2 separate regions of the Homo sapiens genome follow, and region 2 is linked to region 1. Evidence: promoter capture Hi-C in human tissues and cell types (Jung and others, 2019). All regions are on one chromosome and are shown on one strand. The core of a region is centred on a gene start or on the middle of the fragment in contact, and the rest is flanking DNA. Distances in the headings are between cores, read along the strand shown.

Region 1 (5,117 bases), core at 2,234-4,733:
GAGGCGGGCGATCACCTGAGGTCAGGAGTTCAAGACCAGTCTGGCCAACATGGCGAAACCCTGTCTCTACTAAAAATACAAAAATTAGCCAGGCGTGGTGGCATGCACCAGTAATCCCAGCTACTCAGGAGGCTGAGGCAGGAGAATCGCTTGAACCCAGGAGGTGGAGGTTGCAGTGAGCCAAGATTTTTCCATTGCACTCTAGCCTGGAAGACAAGAGCGAGACTCTGTTTCAAAAAATAAAATAAAATAAAATATAAGTTTAATACTAAGTATATGAGAAAATTCTACAAGCTTGGGAAAAAAATTGAACATAGAATGACTTGGCACTCTAATTGTGTGGCAAGGGTCTTTGAGAACTTCCACTTAAACTAAACCTGCAAATCATAGTGGTATATCATAACTGTGGTTTATGACTTCAAACTCTAGGATGTGGTTGAAATTCTTGGCCCTACATCAAAAGATTTGTGAACAAATATATATTTATTTATTCTAGGGTAAAATATGTGGCTTAAGATATATTTAGGATGTATTGACTTTGGTCTTTTGATGAACTTTTTTCATTTGCCAAGTACTATCCCCAATTGAATCGGATAATATGGCTTTTTTATATTGCACAGAAATTAAGCATGAACTACACGAATAATGAAGCACTTAAAAACTATTTAAATACTCTTGATTGACAACACTTACCTCTTAAAACAGTCCATAGTATTGAAAGATTTGAGGTCCACCCTCTACCAGGGTCCATGACCCAGTGGCTTTGCCTCCAGAAGGTCTGCTTCTACTATATTAAAAATAACTTGGCTACCCCAAGGCAGGATGACAGAAATCCTGGCTGCATTCCTTTCCTTCTGATCCACCAGTCAGGTTTTTGGAGCCATTTCCATTTTCTCCTTTCTTCTCTCCAGGAGCAGAGGTAACTTGGAAGAGATTGCCATAAAAACAGCTTGATGAAACTAATGGAAACTTGCTGCCTTCAGCTCTGGAGCCCCCTCCCCCAATGGCTCCTGCCTCACACAGACCAGGGAAAGAAAGTCCTGATGGAAGAATGATGTTTAGTGTGAGGGGCCTCACTTTAGTATCTATTTTCCCCAAAATTATGTGGTCCACATACCTTATTTTTGTTTTAAAATCACTAAAAAAGCAATACAAACTCATAGCAGAAGTCTCAAACGGTGCAGAAAGGTAAAGTCACACACTGTAAATGTAGCCTCTGGCAAGACATGGAGCCTCTCTGATCTCCAGTGTTTCCATTTGCTAAATAGGATAATGAGAGCTAATTTGTAGAGATGCTCTGAAGATATAATGAGATAATAGATGCAAAATACCTACTGTTATTTTATTTATGGTTATTGTGTCAGTCCATTTGCATTGCAGTAAACTTCGGGTGACATAAAGAAAAGCGGTTTACTTTAGGTCAGTTCTGCTGGCTGTACAACGCAAGTGTGGTGCTGGCATCTGCTCTGGTGAGACCTTAGAAAGCTTACAATCATGGTGGATGGTGAAAGGGAGACAGCGTGTCACATGACAGGAGAGGGAGCAAGCGAGAGAGAGAAGGGAGTTGCCACACTTTTAAACAACCAGATCTCTTGTGAGCTCAGAGCAAGAATTCAGTCATTACCATGAAGAGGGCACCAAGCCATTCATGAGGGATTCTCCTCTATGAACCAAAGACCTTCCACTAGGCCCCACCTCCAACATTGGAGGTCACATTTCAATATGAGATTTGGAAAGGACAAAACATCTAAACCATTAGTTATATATACACTATTTTCATTTGCTTAACCAAAAAATACTTTTCCAGTACTGAGAAGTTTGTTGTTTTCCAGCATATTGAAAACACTGGGAGGGACAAGGTAAGAATGATAAGGGTGGAAAAGGACAATGAACTACAATGGTAAATGGGGTGATGTCACAGCAGGTGACATTTATATTGCACTATGAGATGTCCCACAGTTACTCCAAATACAAAGAGACCACAACTGAACAAGGCAGGGCTCATTACTCTAGGCCAGTTAATGTTGATAAGGTCATAAGCAGCCACCTAAGATCTCAATTTGTCAATTTAGGTGTCACACTAGGCATATCTCCTCCTCTTCCAATTAACCGTATCTGTTTATTGTAGTCTTATATACTGTGTCTCCTACTCTTTTCTTCTCCTTTTCAGTTTCAATGACCTTTGGCATCTCCTATGGGTTTTGGCAAACACCTCTAAACTGGCATCTTCTCTTCCAATTTATCCCCCTTTAATCCATCTGCCATACTGAGAGCAAAGTGATCCTCCTAAAATGCACAACTGGTAGCAAGTTTCTTCCCTGATTAATTTCTTTCATTATCATCTACTGTGTGAATTTCAATTTCTGTATACAGCATCTAAGTTTATTACAGAAGTTAACAAATGTGAAGTACTTGAGCACACAGTAAGTACTATAGAAATGCTTGTTATTATTATTTTTTTAATGACCTGGTCTCCACTCTCCTTTTCAATCTAAAACACTGTCATTCCTCCATTAGAATAATTGCTCACACTTTTGCAAGCCCACTGTGCTTACACACATCTGGGCTTCACACACACACACACACACACACACACACACACACACACACTCTTCCACGTTCCTGATTTCTCCTGTGTGGAAGTCTTACTCTTTTTTATATTCTACCTCTCCTGGTGTTTCATAGCCCCTACATACACAAGATATTTTCTTCCAATTCTGAGACCTCTGGACTTGTATTGCTTTTCTGTTTGTAGCCACCACATTGGGTTCTAATTTGTTCCTGTGTTCCTCTCCCCTAATAGATGTTGAGCTCCTGGAATGCAGGGATTGTATTTTACTTATTCCAAGCACCTGAAGAAATGCTGGCACATGGTAAGCAACTAGTATTTAGTAAGATTTTTTTGAACAAATGAAAAGGATAGGCTAGAATTAGATAAAATGTAATTAAGAATATTTAATGATATGGAAAGAAATTCCCACTAGGGCAGAGAAAAGAAGTTTAGTCAAAATCTGGCGCGCTGCAGTTTAACTTCTAGCTAAGCAATGATGGCGGTGATGCAGCAAAGCCTATTTGTTTGAGATCCTGGCTTTTTGATCCGTTGGTGCCACCCACGCTATGTGCTGGATGGGGGTAATCAATATACCACCTTCTCTGCTACTTTGGGCTCAGGTGGAAGGAATTTTATTCCACTCTCTGCAAATCTTCCCGGTGCCTCAGTGGGAAGTGGACGCTGTGAGGGTCTACCAGCTCCCAGAAGGCCTCCCCTTTCTGTTTCCCCTAGGGCCCTCCACCCGGGCTGCAGCCCCAGCATCGCGTCCTCTCGGAGCAGCCTGGCCCCAGGTGGCTGCGGGGCGCGGGACCGCGGGCCCCGGCTCGCCCCTCCCCGCGCGTCACATGCGCGAGGATGCGAACTCCCCTTCCCTCCTCCTCCGCCCCCTCCGCCTCCCGGGCCTCTTCCTCCTGCCGGTGAGGGAGTGCTTGGCAGATTGCGCGAGGGGGAGCGAGCGAGCGGGCGCTGCCAGGAGCCCGCAGCCCTGGCGCCCGCCGCCGCCCGGAGCCCCGCAATATGCCGCCGCGGCCCTCTGGCTCTAGGCCATGGCGAGGCTCTGCCGGCGTGTCCCCTGCACCCTGCTTCTCGGCCTGGCCGTGGTGCTGCTGAAAGCGCGGCTGGTCCCCGCGGCCGCCAGAGCGGAACTCAGCCGCTCCGACCTCAGCCTCATCCAACAGCAGCAGCAGCAGCAGCAACAACAACAACAACAGCAAAAGCAGCTGGAGGAGGCTGAGGAGGAGAGGACAGAGGTGCCTGGGGCAACCTCCACCTTGACGGTTCCAGGTAGGTCCTGGCTGCCCAGCCCGGTCTTTCAGTCTCGGCCGGCGATCTCTTAGGGCCTCGCCGGCTTCCTCGCCCCTTCCCTATCCATTCCTATCCTCGTTCGTTCCTGTCACCATCCCTCCCGATCTCTCTCCCCAGACTGGCTGCCCAGCCTTTGGTCCCTTGATCTGGTGTCGGGAATCTGCCCTCCGGGTAATGAGCTTTCTGAGCAGCTCAGAGCACTGCGGTGGGTTGGAGAGGGGTCGGGAAGGCTGGGGGTGGGTGACTGCCTGGATTGATCTTTTTCTTTTCCCTCCCTTCTTCCTGAATTCTACCCTCTGCCCTGGGAATGACTGTAACACACACACACACACACACACACACACACACACACACACACACACCGTTCTTAAATCCCTTAAACATTTTGTTCTCTATCCTTTTCTCTCCTAGAGACTGAGAAATCTTGCCATGGACACCCACACACCCCTTTTCACCATTTCTCCATGCCTGCTATATTTAAATTTAGCCATGAAGAGAGAAATCTTTATATATTTTATTATTTATTTCTCTTTCTCTTTACCCCAGGAAGGGTTTAAGGGTTCATCTTATTGCAAAGAACTCTTTTAGTACAATAAGATGAAGCAAAACAAAACAGGAGTTTGTAATTGAAGGAAAGGGAAAAGGAGAGGGGGACACATAAGGTGAAGTCTGGAGTGGTGTTAGAACAGCAAAAGCCTATCCCTAGAGAGAGAAATCTCCTTACTTGTTAGTAGAACTTAAATGAGGCAGATTCTTGACACTGTTCAGTGAAGGTGTAGAAATACGGCTGTAGTATAGGTGGCTGTAACAGTTCCGCAGTTCCTCCCTCTTTCCCCCCATTAAAGCTCCATCGGTAAGCAAATAGCTAGATTATCCATGTATATTGCATCTCCCTACCCCGCAACCCACTTCGCTTCATGGCTGTAGATTCTTGTCTGCTATTTGGAAAGAAAAAAAGCCTCCAATTTTCTGGCACGAGGGCTTAGGTTTTGTGAAACCAAAGTGAATTTTATTATGACGTTTGTTTTTGTTTTAAAATCCTGCCTGGTAACACTATATGAGTGCTGAAAATGAGATTTGAAAGAGTGGAATCAGCATCACATTTTGTATTGCTTGCTCATCGTCAAAAAGCAGTACACAGGCATGCCAGCTGCGATTCATGACACAGCCAGGATGATTTAATTTATCAGAGTGCTCTGAGCATAGGATGAAATCACCAAAGTGTGCAGGAAAGCATGTGTTTCTGACACCCTCTTAAACC
Region 2 (5,077 bases), core at 887-3,386, 36 kb after region 1:
ATACTATAGGAAGTTCTCTTGTCTGTTTCAATATTGCTTTTCTACCTCCTTTATTGTAATATCAGAAATTCTGTATTTTTCTTCACGTGTTGTTTCCTCTCAGAATTATACATCAAGGAAAGTCTGTTTTCTATTGCTGTCTGTATCCCCAATCCCCATCTCGTGCAGATCTGAGGAAAAGTAGGTAATCAGTAAACATTTGTTGAATGGATTCATGTAAATGAACATTTCTATTGTTTCCAACCAACTATTTTATTCCACTATATTTTTGTGTTCTTCATTTTTCCTAGTTCTCAGGATACATAAAACTCAATAAAAATTTTGAATTTATCCCATTAAAATATTGTTTTAAAAATTTGACCTATAGTCTGTTTATAAAATCTTTTTATTTTAGCAATGTATTCCTATAGGAGATTAAGTTGTAGCATATGAAATGAAATTATTATAGATACTTGCTTTTGAAACATAATGGAAACGAAGTAGGTGAGTTTTTGTACTGGATAAATCTGAAAATGAGGTGGCTTCTCCATGTGTATAGTTGTAACCTACATAATGGTGACAACATAATAGGATGATGTCAGAGTCTCTTGAAAAGAAGTGGGATTGTGATATTTTCAGCCCACCTACATAAAGACGTAAATGTCACCCAAATATATATAGTTAGCAGTATTTTTAAAGCCCTTTTGGACTTTTAGTTACCTATTTGTATTCCATAGGAAAACCATAATATAGTATTGGTTTTAATATTTTTTTCTAGAATATTCCTTTATACCTATTTATTATTATTTGAATTTTAGTGATTCTCACTACTTAACGATGCTTGTAACCATCTGCTAAATAGTTAAATCTTCTCCAGCAACCTCAGGACCTAGCTCACTGATACGTATTTTATTTTTACTTGGTTTTTCTCAACATTTAGATTATATGTTTTCTAAGGGTGCAGTTGAATCATTTAATACTGAACCATTTTAAAACGAATAGTGATATGTTGAAAAGATGATTATGTGGGCAAGACATAATGATTATAATTAAGTGACAGAGAAAATAAATATGCTCATTGAAAGCTAAAAAAATACACTGGAGAAGGGTAGGTAGACAAAAGCACCTCCGGCTGAAAATCAGATATTTAATCATGGAATCTGCCCTGTCTAAATGCCAAAGTATTTTTTTTTTTCTGGAGGAGAGAACTGGTAGAGGATTATTAGGGATATATATTGCTTCTGGCTGACTGTGCTGCTTGCTTGATCAAGCTGTTGACACCATGGAAATCAGAAGCATCCCGTTTAAGTCATAAGCAGCTAATTCTTTATAACTTTTCCTTTTACTTGAAATAGAAAAGAGTTGTTCATACCTCATTAATTACTTTGACCAGGCTTTCAGCTGAGGTTTTTTTTGTTTTGTTTTGTTTTGTTTTTTAAATGCTGCTTTTGCTGTGGCTTGTGCTAGGGTGAGAGACAAACCAAGTTTGAGGATGGGGAGAAGAGGCTCAGAGAGTCAGTGAATGAGAATTTCCTTCTGAGCATTGGTTGTGAGAAAATAAGTTAGTAAATATGATGAAAACCAAATCCCTAATGCTTTTCAATAAGAGTTAATGTGGTACATGGGACTTGGTGTCAGAGGGACTTGCCTGTGAATCCTGGCTATAACCTTATTAGCTGTGCAGTTTTTCGTTTTTTGTTTTTTGTTTTGTCTTGTTTGTTTTTGAGACAGAGTCTCTCTCTCTCACTCTAGCCAGGCTGGAGTACAGTGGCACGATCTCACCTCACTGCAACCTCCGCCTCTGGGTTCAAGCAATTCCCCCGCCTCAGCCTCCTGAGTAGCTGGGACTACAGGCACGTGCCACCACACCTAGCTAATTTTTGTATTTTTAATAGAGACAGGGTTTTACCATGTTGGCCAGGATGGTCTCAATCTCTTGACCTCGTGATCCACCTGCCTTGGCCTCCCAGAGTGCTGGGATTACAGGCGTGAGCCACCACACCTGGCCAGCTGTGCAGTTTTAATCTCAATTTCCTTGCCTTAAAATTGGGAAATGTCTTACAGGTGTGTATTAGGATGAAATTGGACAATATGTGTAAAGTTTCCAGCACTGGGCTGTATATGTGTGTGTGTCACACAAGTAAACATGTATGTATGTATGTATAAAACCTGTAATTTATTATGTCAGCTCTAACTGAGTGGCATTAAGGAGGAAACAACTGCAAGTCAGTTGTTTCCATTTTGAGCTAGAGAGGACCCTGTTAGTCAGGCCTGTATTATGCACTAAGTCTACTAAGCACTTTAAGATATAGATATAGGTGATCTCATCAGAGAGGGAGATTATGATTTGGATCATCAAGACTTGACCTTTGCAAATCTATTTTTTTCTAAATATGATATTTTCTTATCAGATTTATATTAACATTATTGCATGTGAAAAAAATAAAATCATCCATTCTGGATTAGAAAACGTTTTAGAAAACATTTTATAAATCAAATCCAGCTTCAGAATGTCAGGAGGGTTTTTAGTGTGTCTTATTTTGGCAACTGTACTTTTACAAGGATGAAACAGATGGAATATGCAGTTTTTTTTTTCTTTTGCGAATTTAGCTTAAGATCTTACCACACATTGAGATTTATCTGTAAATCCAAAGGCTCTGAGAATCTCTGAAATTGAACTTTGAAACAAATGAATTAATAAAAATTCCCTATTGAATATGCTGTTGAAGGAGCCATTGTAGGTACATTTGGTTTGAATAAGATCTGTTATTGAATTGGAATAGAGATCCTAATTCCCTTATGAGTTAGTTATGTTCAGTTTGTCTCTCATGCGGTTTATCATGTTTTTGGTACTCAACATTATCCTTAATTCCTTCACATTCTGTAACAGGTATCAATGTCTATAAAATAGTGGCCTAGTAAATAGTATCCTTTATTTACAGTTGTACATATTTAATGTGCTTACTTAAGGAGCAAGCAACAGAAACAAACTCTGGCTACAAGAAATGAAAGGGCTTTCTAGGAAAGATTATTATGTAGTTCACAGATCAGCTGGAAGGGCTGCACAACCCAGCTTCTGGAAGGAGAGGGACTAGGGAAGCACTAGAAAGCACAATGGTAAGGCCTCATAGACTTTCCAAGGTAATTCAGTTCCAGCAACCATTAGCATCTCTGTAACTGTATTCACATTTTGAGGTCCTGATAGAATCTATCTGGCTTATATTAGTTGGGTGCTTTATGCTAGTGGCTCGGTAAATTTTGACTGAAGGATTAGGGGCTGGGTGGCTGAGAGAATTATTTCAAATTGAGCAGCAGCTACTTTTTCTCTACACTTATAGTTTTTTATACTATCCAACTACTTATCCAAGAAAGCCCATCATGTCATATATATCGGGTCTGAAACCCCTGGGACACAGACAGATACAGATACTGAGACCTATCGGGAACTGGGCCTCACAGCAGAATGTGAGCGGCGGGTGAGTCAGTGAAGCTTCATCTATGTTTACAGCCATTCCCCATCACTCACATTATGGCCTGGGCTCCACCTCTTGTCAGATCAGTGGCAGCATTAGTTTCTCATAGGAGCATGAACCCTATTTTGAACTGAGCATGTGAGGGATCTAGGTTGCATGCTCCTTATGAAAATCTAATTCCTGATGATCTGTCACTCTCTCCCATCACCCTGAGATGGGACCATCTAGATGCAAGAAAACAAGCTCAGGGCTCCCGCTGAGGGGAGTTGTATAATTATTGCATTATATATTACAATGTAATAATAATAAAGTACACAATAAATGTAATGCATTTGAATCATCCTGAAACTATCCCCTAATGTGGTCCATGAAAAAATTGTCTTCTCTGAAACCAGAGTCTGGTGCCAAAAAGGTTGGGAGGCACTGATATATCTTACTATTATAACTTTTTTTTGTTGTTTTTTAAACCCAAGTGTTATATTTTCCATTTGAGTTTGAGGACATGGTTTGGCATGAGTATGTGTGTATATGGCCAGGGGGTGCTTTTTCTTTTTAATTGATGTTTTATAAGAATTTAAGTTCTCAATGATGATTGCAATCATATATTACTTGAGTTAATTTAGTAGTGTCACCCCAAGCCCCACTGTTCCATAGTTCCAAGATGGCTTTGGAGTCCTTCGTGGTGTTGGCAGTGGTGAATCCACATGGGTCTGCAGCCACCTCAGTTCTTGCCTTCCTAGAAGAAAGAATTCAACTGACGGGTGTAAGGCAGAGAGACACCAAGGCAAGTTTTAGAGCAGGCATGAAAGTTTATTAAAAGGTTTTAGAGCAGGAACAAAAGTAAAGTGCATGTGGAAGAGGGTCAAGCAGGCAACTTGAGATTCAAATGCACGGTTTGATTTTTGACTTGGGGTCTTATGTGTTGGCAGCTTCCAGGGTTGCTTTACTTCTGTGATTCTTCCTGCGGAGTGGGCTGTCTGCATGTGCAGTGGCCTGCTAGCACTTGGGAGCGGCTGCATGTGCAGTGTGTTTATTGAAGTTGTACACATGCTCACTTGAGGCATTTTCCCTTACCAGTTAAGTGTTCCTAGAGGAAGGTCATATTTCAGTTAAACTCTGCTATTTTACCTTTTAGTGCACATGCTTGGGCCCACTCACCCAACTCCTGAGATCTCATCAGGAAGCTGCTGATCACCAGTTTCAGATTTTCTATCTATTGAGAGACAGCCCTTCCCTGGTGCTGGTTGTGACCAATTATTATTATAGAGAGACAGTTTAACAACTGCCTGAACATTGCCTGATGTTTGCCTGACATTCCTGGTGAGGGTGGGTCCTCTCCTGCCTTGCTCATATCTGATTACCGACTGTAACAGTGCGTGTATTTGAAGGCTGACATGGCCTCTTACCATCTGTGAGACTTTGGTCAATTTTCATGACCTATCTGAATCTTCGTTTTTTGAAATCAATAAAATGGATTTGATGTTACAAATTTTACAAAGGTATATTGAGATTTTTGTGATCTATACATAGAATACTTGGGATATAACTGACCAATGGGTTCTTCTTGCCTACTTCCCAGTTAGAGCCAATTTATCAAGGCAGGGGAATTGCAATGAAGAAAGAGT

The links. The method cuts DNA at HindIII sites, captures the fragments that hold promoters and counts their contacts. A contact is called where the count stands out against the background at its distance.
Region 2: a fragment that was not itself captured here is called in contact with the fragment with the promoter of FAM171B in region 1 in 1 of the 25 tissues and cell types used here (pancreas).

Annotation. Positions count from the first base shown.
Region 1 is chr2:186,690,577-186,695,693 of GRCh38, forward strand. FAM171B (family with sequence similarity 171 member B) reads left to right here and starts at 3,484. Exons shown (of 8, transcript NM_177454.4): 1 at 3,484-3,835. The coding sequence starts at 3,598. RefSeq lists a silencer at 3,288-3,647. The HindIII fragment of the contact is 10,077 bases long and covers 890-5,117 here.
Region 2 is chr2:186,728,272-186,733,348 of GRCh38, forward strand. All of the region lies in intron 1 of FAM171B (family with sequence similarity 171 member B), which reads left to right. Among named protein-coding and RNA genes, the nearest start is that of FAM171B, 37 kb to the left of the region's middle. The HindIII fragment of the contact is 6,804 bases long and covers 1-5,077 here.